2 separate regions of the Homo sapiens genome follow, and region 1 is linked to region 2. The links are contacts of gene promoters, found by promoter capture Hi-C in human tissues and cell types (Jung and others, 2019). All regions are on one chromosome and are shown on one strand. The core of a region is centred on a gene start or on the middle of the fragment in contact, and the rest is flanking DNA. Distances in the headings are between cores, read along the strand shown.

Region 1 (5,158 bases), core at 687-3,186, 800 kb before region 2:
GGCCTGGATATAAGAGGTAATGAGTGTTTACTGAATTAAATTGAATAAATTAGAGAGATACAATGTGGGGTTCGACGTGTGTCCATATATTCTGTTTGTAACATGCCTCTGACTCTGGAGAGGGAAGACAGGCTATGCTGGCACCTAGACTCAGGCTTAGGTGCTAACATTTAGATGCTTCAGGTTTCCTTCAGTTGAGCCCAAGTCACCTGGATAAGGAAATTTATGTATTTTTAGTACATAAGTGACAGATTCAGGGCAAACTCAGTAATAAAAGCAAGCTTCTGGCTTCAAGATCCCAAGAGATTTTCTCTTAAAGAGTTTGGGCTGGACGCAGTGGCTCAAGCCTGTAATCCCAGCACTTTGGGAGGCCGAGGCGGGCAGATCACGAGGTCAGGAGTTCAAAACCAGCCTGGCCAAAATGGTGAAACCCCACCTCTACTAAAAATACAAAAATTAGACCGGGTGTGGTGGCTCAGACCGGGCGCGGTGGCTCAGACCGGGCGCGGTGGCTCACGCCTGTAATCCCAGCACTTTGGGAGGCCGAGGAGGGCGGATCATCTGAGGTCAGGAGTTCGAGACCAGCCTGGCCAACATGGTGAAACCCCGTCTCTTCTAAAAATACAAAAATTAGCCGGGCATGGTGGCAGTTGCCTATAATCCCAGCTACTCGGGAGGCTGAGGCAGGAGAATTGCCTGAATACAGGAGGCGGAGGTTGCAGTGAGCCAAGATCATGCCACTGCATACCAGCCTGGGCAACAGAGCAAGACTCCATCTCAAAAAAAAAAAAAAAAGAATTTTATAGGCAACTAAAATGGGTGGGACCAACCTGCCATCCCAGCTACAGAGAGAAAAGCCAAACATTAGTGGACTGGGACCTTACTGTGGATGAAGAATCTAGTATCTGGGGCGGAAAGCAAGGTCCTCCCAGGAGAAGAGCAAGAAAGGAAGGTTGATGCTAGAGCCCGTGGAAGGGTCTTAAATTCTACATTAAACGAGATTCTACTTTCGTCTGTAGACAATAGGAAATGATTTAAGATTTTATAAGCAGGGGAGGAGTAGGATTTGATTCAACAAAGATTTATGAAATGTTTACTTTTGTACTAGTATGAACAAGGGCATAAAGTTGAGTTAAACATAGTCACTGCCCTTTAGACAAGTACACAAGTGACTGTAATGCAAGATGAAATAAGAAGTGAGTGAAACCCAAGATGTAGAAAGAAAGGATTATAGAAGTCCAAAGGAAATCCTATCTGCTTGATAGAGGAGATCTGGAAATACTTTATGGAGAGGGAGGTGTTTTAATGGGGCCTTGAAGAATAGGTACTTTATAAACAAAATTCCCTGAAGAGGCAACATGAACAACAATAAACTTGTAAAAGTTGTGTAACTGCTGGGCACGGTGGCACACGCCTGTAATCCCAGTACTTTGGGAGGCCCAGGTGGGAGGATCACCTGAGGTCGGGAGTTCGAGACCAGTCTGCCCAACATGGCGAAACCCCATCTCGACTAAATACAAAAAATTAGCCGGGTATGGTGGCACATGCCTGTAATCCTAGCTACTCGGGAGACTGAGGCAGGAGAATTGCTTGAACCCAGGAGGTGGAGGTTGCGGTGAGACAAGATCGTGCCACTGCATGCCAGCCTGGGAGACAGACTGAGACTCTGTCTAAAAAAAAAAAAAAAAAGTTGGGTAACTTCCCCACTAATCAGGGAGATACTTTTTAACTTAATTTAATTTATTTATTTGAAACAGGATCTGGCTCTGTCATCCAGGCTGGAGTGCAGTGGCATGATCATAGCTCACTGCAGCCTTGACCTCCAGTGCTCAGGTGATCCTCCCACCTCAGCCTCCTGAGTAGCTGGAACTACAGACATCAGCCACCACGCCAGATAATTTTTATTTTTTTTTTTAGAGATGGGGTCTCACTATGCTGTCCAGGCTGGTCTTGAACTCCTGAGCTCAAGAAATCCTCCTGCCTCAGCCTCCCAAAATGTTGGGATTACAGGTGTGACCTACTATGCCCAGCTAAGACGCATATTAACACCACAATGATATATCATTTCATGCTCAAAAACATTTTATAAATAAAAATTTTACATATATAGATATATATGTATATATACATATATTTGCTTTTTTCTATATATATACATATATACATATATGTATAATACATGTATATTTATATAATACATATGCTTCCAATTAACTACTATAAATTTGTATTAGTAAATCCTTTGATTTTCATTAGTTTGTATGAGTATCATTATTGCTTAAGCAATATATTTAGTTTTGCCTGTTTTTTACCTTTACTGTATTTTTTTTTTTCCCCGAGATGGAGTCTCACTCTGTCGCCCAGGCTGGAGTGAGTGGCACAATCTTGGCTCACGGCAACCTCCACCTCCCAGGTTCAGGGGATTTTTCTGCTTCAGCCTCCTGAATAGCTGGGACTACACGCATGAGCCACCACGCCTGGCTAATTTTTGTATTTTTAGTAGAGACATGGTTTCACCATGTTGGTCAAGCTGATCTCAAACTCCTGACCTCGTGATCTGCCCGCCTCGGCCTCCCAAAGTGCTGGGATTACAGGCGTGAGCCACCGCACCTTCCCTGATCTTTACTGTATTTTTGCTCTTACTAAATATATATGTATGTATATATAGAGAGACAGGAAATAAAGCAAGTATATATAAAGGCATAGGAGTGAGAAATGCCAGACTCTTTTCCTAAGCTGTATAGTGGGTACGTGGTTGCTCTTTACACTAATTTTTGTATATTTTAATATTGATTTTTTTAAAAAAAGAGTAGATAGTAGTTCAGCAGGAGGAATTGAAGCAAGAAGCTATTCTAGAGAGAAGAAATTGTACTGGAGAGAGCAGGCTGTGTTCAGGAAACAAAGTGTCATCATTCTGCTTGGCAGAATAAAATACATTTTTTCTTTGTCATAAGAGCAGCAACTTGCATTTGTGCACTTTATAAAATACTTTCATGTGCTCCCACCAGTTAATTATCAACTTGAAGAACAAGTATTCCATTTGATAGATGAGGAAACAGGCTCAGAAAGAATAAGCGATATATTTGTGAATATTTTTGGCAGAGAAAAAGCTTAAAAGGATATACAACAAACGGTAGTGGTTATCTCTGGGAAGTGGAATTTACTCTGTTTGCTTAATTGTATTTTCTGATATTTCTATAAATGAACCTGAAGTAAAAAATAATAAAGCAGAGAGGGGGAAGGAAGACAACAGGAAAACAATGACTTCCTCAAAATCAAATGTTCATGTTTTCAGATTCCCAATCCTGCTCTGAGTTACTCTAATGAAAACAACAGAAGAAATACAAGAAAGATTCTAACATAGAAAAAAATGTTCAACCTCACTGGTAAGCAAAGAAATGCAAATTAAGACAATATGTAAGAATCATGTCTATTAAATTAGCAAAACTTTTTTAAAGATGAGGGTGTGATGAGACTAGTAGCCATTTACTGTTCGGAACACTGTAAATTGATACAATCACTTTAAAAATGATTCCACAGCAGCCAGGCGTGGTGGCTCACACCTGTAATCCTAGCCCTTTGGGAGGCCGAAGTGGGCGGATCACTTGTGGTCAGGAGTTTGAAACCAGCTTGGCCATCATGGTGAAACCCCATCTCTACTAAAAATACAAAAAATTAGCTGGGCATGGTGGTGCGCACCTGTAATCCCAGCTACTCGAGAGGCTGAGGCAGAAGAATTGCTTGAACCTGGGAGGCGGAGGTTGCAGTGAGCCGAGATCGTGCCACTGCACTCCAGCTTGAGTGATAGAGCAAGACCTGTCTCAAAAAAAAAAAAAAAAAAAAAAAAAAGATTCTGCAGCAAGTAAGGGAGGTGTAAAATTGTTCTCACCCTGTGAAAATAATCTAAAATGTGGAAACTTTTTTTCTGGGAAACAACAAAATGTTCACATGAGCATCTTTAATGCAGCAGGGCATCCCCCATTCAGACACCAGGTCCAAGATTGGCTGTTTATAGAAAGATGGCCTATAATCTTCTGGACATTTATCTGCTCTAATTTATATACATAAAGGAGCAGAGGGTGTTTTGGGGTTGGTTGGTGGGGCGGGGGGTTTGCTGAAGGAAATATAAGAAAATGTGTGTTTGTGCGTGTGTGTGCATGTGTTTGAGTGGGAATGAAGGAACTGATCTAGTGTGTCTGTTCAGGGCCCAGGCACTCAGATTACTCTTTTTCCCCCTCAGTATAACTCAATGAGATTTGAGTGAAAAAGATCAATCTCTGGAGAAGTGTTCTGTTTTCTTATTTGCTTTGTTTTATTTTTCTTGTGAAATACATTGTAAATGAAAAGCATATAAGTAATGCATATTAACAATTTAAATAATTATTTTACAAAGAAAACCTGTGTACTCGGCAGCCAACTTAAGAAACAGAAACTTTGATGGCAGAGGTGGGCGGATTACTTAAGACCAGGAGTTCGAGACCAGCCTGGCCAACATGGTGAAACTCCATCTCTACTAAAATTACAAAAATTAGCTGGGTGTGGTGGTGCATGCTTGTAATCCCAGCTACTTGGGAGGCTGAGGCAGAAGAACCACTTGAACCCAGGAGGCTGAGCTTGCAGTGATCTGAGATCCTGCCACTGCACTCCTGCCTTGGCAACAGAATGAGACACTGTCTCAAAACAAAACAAAAAAAGAAATAGAAACTTTGCATCTTTCTCTCCCATTCCAATTAATTACTATACTGAAGTTTGTATTAGTAAATCCTTTGATTTTCATTAGTTTGTGTATCCTTATTGCTTAAGCAATATATTGTTTAGTTTTGCCTCTTTTTTACCTTTACTGTATTTTTACTCTTACTAAATATATATTTCTATGTCTTGCTTTTTACACTCAATATTGTTTGAAGCTTGTCTGTGTTGATGCATGTAACTGTAGTCTGCCCATTTTCCTTGATGGATAGCATTCCGATATGTAAATTACCAACTTGCTCGGAGGTGCAGCCATTAAATCCTCATTTTGAGCAATCACCCCAAGTAAGACTGATGCAGGTGGACTTTTGCTCACACTTCGGGAATTACTGTCTTAGAGGACACAGTCCGAGCTCTTACCTCCCAGTTTCCCAAGTCTCTACATCAGCCTTTTAATTTTAGTAGAACT
Region 2 (5,240 bases), core at 1,817-4,316:
ATATCAATTGTTTCCAGCTGAGCAATGTGTTGTATACTGTGTCTAAGGCTTGACTGGCTGCCTTAAATTTTAATATATCTAGGATTTCATTTTCCCCATCAAATGTTTACCATCCCCTTAAACACTTTTTGTCCCTTCCTTTTCTTGACAAACCACTGCTGCCTTATTTTGCATTTGCCACGCCTTTTTTGGGCTTCGCATGTGAAAGCACTTTGAAAATTTTAACATACCATATTATTATTTAAATGCTTGCTCATTTTCCATCTGTAATCTTGCAATTTAACTCACTCCTGGGTTAGTGACATGTATTTCCATTAAGTGGAATCACATCTTTCACTTGGTTAAACCACATTCCAAAGCCTTCCCATTAATTAATTAGAACAAAATCCACATTTTTGACCTTGGCCCTACAGATCGGCCTCTCCTGCTTTCTGACTTTCTCTCACACTGCTCCCCTTGCCTACTAGGTCTCAGCACTCCTTGCCTTTTTGTTTCTGAAACAAACTAAGTTCATTTCCAGCTGAAATCCTTACACCTGCTTGTCTCCTCACCTGGAATGTTCTTTACCTACCTTTGAGTTCCTCCTCCTTCACCATTCAATTCTCTGCTCAAAAAGGCCTTCCCTGCCAGGCACGGTGGCTCATGCCTGTAATCCTAGCACTTTGGGAGGCTGAGGTTGGCGGACTGCCTGAGCTCAGGAGTTTGAGACCAGGGTGGGTAGCATGGTGAAACTCCGTCTCTACTAAAAATACAAAAAAATTAGCCAGGCCTGGTGGCGCCCGCTTATAATCCCAGCTACTTGGGAGGCTGAGGCAGGAGAATTGCTTGAACCCAGGAGGTGAAGGTTGCAGTGAGCCGAGATCACGCCACTGCACTCCAGCCTGGGTGACAAAGCGAGACTCTGTCTCAAAAAAAAAAAAAAAAAAAAAAAAAAAGGCCTTCCCTCACTACCACTCTGTATACAATAACCACCTTCTACTCCCATCCTCTCACCCCATTTTATTTTCTCCAGAGCATGATTTGAAATTGTCACTTGCTTATCTGTTTAATCTGTTCCCTGCTTTGGTTACCATGTCCCCAGCAGCTCAAACAGTGTGGTAGGCACTCAGATGTTACTGGCTTCTCAATGAACATTTGTTGACTAAATGAAGTGCAATGAGAAGGATGAAGGCAAAAGTATATACTTATCCTAGCACTTAACAGGAGCAGGGGGCCTCACCGCCTCAGCAAAAATCCAAATTAGCCATTTAAGACTTTAAGTTTGCAAGAATGTACGCAAGAATGTACTCATTTAGTCAGCCAATACTGACTGAACACCTACAACGTTTAATACACATCTGGGTGGCTGGGCGTGGTGGCTCACACCTATAATCCTGGCACTTCGGGAGGCCAAGGCAGGCGGATTGCCTGAGGCCAGAGTTTGAGACCAGCCTGGGCAGCATGGAACCTGGTCTCCACTGAAAATACAAAAAAATTAGCCAGGCATGGTGGCGTGGGCCTGTAGTCTCAGCTACTTGGGAGGCTGAGGCATGAGAATCGCTTGAACCCGGAGGGGTGGAGGTTGCAGTGAGCCACTGCATTCCAGCCTGGGCGACATACACTGTCTCAAAAAATAATAATAAATAAATATATATATGTATATAAATAAATGTGTATATATATGTGTGTGTGTGTATATATATATATATATATATATATATATATATATATATACACACACACATACACACACACCCCTGGGTATTGTGTTAAAACCTGCTGCTTGCCTCTGAGGTATTTTTAGACTAGATGGAGGGTGAGAGATGTGCATAATCAAAACATATGGAGAAATGGTTAAGTGCCACACAAAATGTGTATGGCAATTCAGACGCTGGACTGAGCAGTTGTCACTGGGAGAAGAAGCCTTAAAGGGTAAGTGAAGTTAAGACTGGCCTGGAAGAGTGAGAACTGGCATTCCAGGCAGATTGAACAACACACATAACACAAAACAAGCAGTCCAGACCTGTTGATTTTCTGGACTGGACTTCAATATGCTAGAGTAGATGTAGTGTGTAGGAAAATCAAGTCTGGGAAGGCAGGTAGGGCCCAAATTGTGAGGGGTCTTAAACAGTAGGTAGTGAGGAACTACCCATTTTGTTGTGAAAACTGTTCCTATTTATTTGTTTCCTTCCGAAGGGACGCATAGTCATATTAGTCTCATTCGGGGTCTGTGGCTGTTCTAAGGACGCTGCCAAGTTCTGGTTAGCAAGGAAAGCACCGTGCACGCCATCTGAGACGACAGTAACCTTCCTTACCTTAGACCATTCGGTGGTATCCACCCAGTAGAAGGTGATTTTTCGGGCGACCATGACTTCCCGGACTCTCTTGGGCAACAACTTCTCCATCACCTGCTTAGGGGTGGGCGGCAGGCGCTGGGCCTGGGCCTCGCACCCAGACACGAACTGCAGCAGCTCCCTCTGCGAGTGCGGACAGGGGGCCAGGAGGAAGACGGCGTTCACCAAGCCCCCGAGCGCGGCCTCGGCCTCCTTGGCCTCGCTCTCCACGTCCAGCAGTCTCCTCCCGCTGCTCCGCAGGATCGGCTTCGTGGGCGACGTGATCTCGGGCCGGTCCCACTGGTAGTCTAGCAGCGTCTCCATCAGGGCGCCGTGCGTGTGGGTGGCCCTGGGCGCCGGGCCGGGCAGGTGGGCGCGATCCTCGAGCCTGGCCTCCAGCTCCTCCTCAAAGTCCTCCCACGAGCGGGACCCCAGCTCGCGGAAGTCAGACACGCGGGACGGCCGGCTCCGCGCCCCCTGCGAGTCAAAGAACTTGAAGGCCCAGTGGACCCTGGCCAGGCCGAATCGGCAACTCAGATAGGTGAGGAGGCGCAGGGCGGCCCGCCGGACCCGGCTGTGGCGGGCGGCGCCGCCCGCGGTGTCCAGCAGCAGCATTACTTTGTGACAGCATGCCATATCGGCCGTGCCGCCGCCCCGGGGCCCCGGTCCGGGCCCGCGCCACCGTCCCTTAGTCCCTTCCTTCAGGGAAACAGCACCACTCACTGCTTTCCTTTGGGACCCTGGTCGAAAGGCTCCCGCGCTCTCCAGGAACTGCTGCTATTGGGGGAGCTAGTTTCCAAGGTTTGCTCCTATTGGCTGCTTGCCTTACGTAAGTTACGAGAGCAACTTCCATTTTTGGCGGTGATTGGAGGGGCAGTGGAGAAAACTTCAGTCTGATTGGTGGAGGGAGTGACGGTGGGCGGGTCTCTGTGGTCCGAGAGAAGCTTAGCATTCATTGGCCTGGGCCTTCGTTTTAAATTTTAAAGAGGTGGTGCCTCGGGGGCGTGTCGAGAAGTTTCGCCATTGGAAAGAGGCCAGCGTTTGTGCGCAGTCGTGAGTGCGGACTGCGGGGCCACGTTTCCCAAGACCGAGGAAAACTTAGTGCCGGGAGGGAATTTGGGATGGTTTGAATCGAACTTGTTGAAATCCCTGTGGACCGCCTAGGAAGTAGAATCTGACGACTACGGCTTTTTCTGTAATTTAAAAAATTTTATTAAAAATTAAAGGTTCACTCCCTTTGCCCCAGTAACTTCTAGGAGTTTATCTGCAGAAGGTAATCGGAGAGCCAGATAAAAGACGTCTGTACATCTTAGAGTTTATTTAACATCAGAAAAAATGGAAACAGTTTGGGAATGGTTAAATAAGGTATGGTACACGCCCAAGGGGAGCATCGTGCAGCTCCTTTTTTTTTTTTTTTTTTTTTTTTTTTTTTTTTGAAACGGAGTCTCGCTCTGTCTCCTAGGCTGGAGTGCATTGACACGATCTTGGCTCACTGCAACCTCCACCTCCCGGGTTCAAGCGATCCTCCTGCCTCAGCCTCCTGAATAGGACTACAGGCGCACGCCACCACCCCAGACTAATTTTTGTATTTTTAGTAAAGACGGAGTTTCACCATGTTGGCCAGGCTGGTCTCAAACTCCTGACCTTGTGATCCACCCGACTTGGCCTCCCAAAGTGCTGGGATTACAGGCGTGAGCCACCAAGCCCGGCCTAGTGCAGCTTCTTAAAATAGTGTTTTATTATGTAATGTTAGGTTTTAAAAGTGGACTGCAAGCAGCACCTGCAGTGAATTCCCTAAATTTTCTATCTACATGTATATATAGATAGAAATCACATGTAGATTTGCATTACAGATAGAAATTATATATCGCTATATAGATAGAATACATAGAATTATATATAGATAGGCCGGGCACGGTGGCTCACGCCTGTAATCCCAGCACTTTGGGAGGCCGAGGCGGGCGAATCACCAGGTCAGGAGATCGAGACCATCCTGGCTAACACAGTGAAACCCTGTCTCTACTAAAAAAAAAAAAACAAAACAAAAAAAAAAGGAATTATATATAGATAGATAATCATAGATAGAAGTTATATATAGATAGAAATGCATTTATATGCATATTTTTAAACTGTTAATATAATATTGTGTACCGGAAGTTGTCTGTGATGGTCTCTCCATGTGATTTTTTTTGAAACTTTTTTACACTTCCTCTTGCTGGACACCAGTGAACAGGCTGATTTCAGAGATGTGAGATGTGCCTCTAGGATCAGTGGAATATGGTATTTGGAAAGAAGAAGGGGACAAAAAATGAAGGTCGGTTACCTGAATATGTGTTTAGGGAGATTGATCCAATACTCCACACCATTGAATTCTGCTTGCTAAGTAATTCTGTTTCCACCTGGAAACAGAACAACTTCCTTTATATGCTTTGGCTACAACTTCCTTTATGTGCCTTGGCTTCTCCAATCAAAGTCCTCAGCAATTACTGCCTCATGTACAACAATTTTCTCTTTTGGTTGAGTTTTCTAGGGCTGCCTGCCATAACAAAGGATCAAACCCAAAAATTGCCTCACAGTTCTGAAGGCTTGATGTCCAAAATCAAAGTGTTGGCATGCACTTGCTCCCCTCCAGCCCCCATGGCTCTAGGGGAGAATCATCCTTTGACTCTTCTAGTTTCTGATGTTTGCTGGCAATTCTTGGTGTTCTTCCTGTGTGTCTTCCCGTCATCTTCCCTCTGTGCATGGCTGTCTCTGTGTCCAAACTTCCCTTTTATAAGGACACCAGTCATGTTGGATTAGGGCCCACCCTAATGACTTTATTTTAACTTGCTTACTTCTACAAGACCCTATTTTCAAATAAGATCACATTCTGGGGGATGCTGGGGGATAGGAGGACCTTAACATATCTTTTTTTTTTTTTTTTTTGAG

The links. The method cuts DNA at HindIII sites, captures the fragments that hold promoters and counts their contacts. A contact is called where the count stands out against the background at its distance.
Region 1: a contact is called between a fragment that was not itself captured here and the fragment with the promoter of TICRR in region 2, in 1 of the 25 tissues and cell types used here (hippocampus).

Annotation. Positions count from the first base shown.
Region 1 is chr15:90,368,281-90,373,438 of GRCh38, reverse strand. No RefSeq gene overlaps it. Among named protein-coding and RNA genes, the nearest start is that of IQGAP1, 17 kb to the left of the region's middle. The HindIII fragment of the contact is 4,146 bases long and covers 1-4,009 here.
Region 2 is chr15:89,573,295-89,578,534 of GRCh38, reverse strand. It overlaps TICRR (TOPBP1 interacting checkpoint and replication regulator), which reads right to left and starts at 3,066. Exons shown (of 22, transcript NM_152259.4): 1 at 2,295-3,066. The coding sequence starts at 2,948. RefSeq lists an enhancer at 2,139-2,667 and a silencer at 2,789-3,078. The HindIII fragment of the contact is 16,704 bases long and covers 1-5,240 here.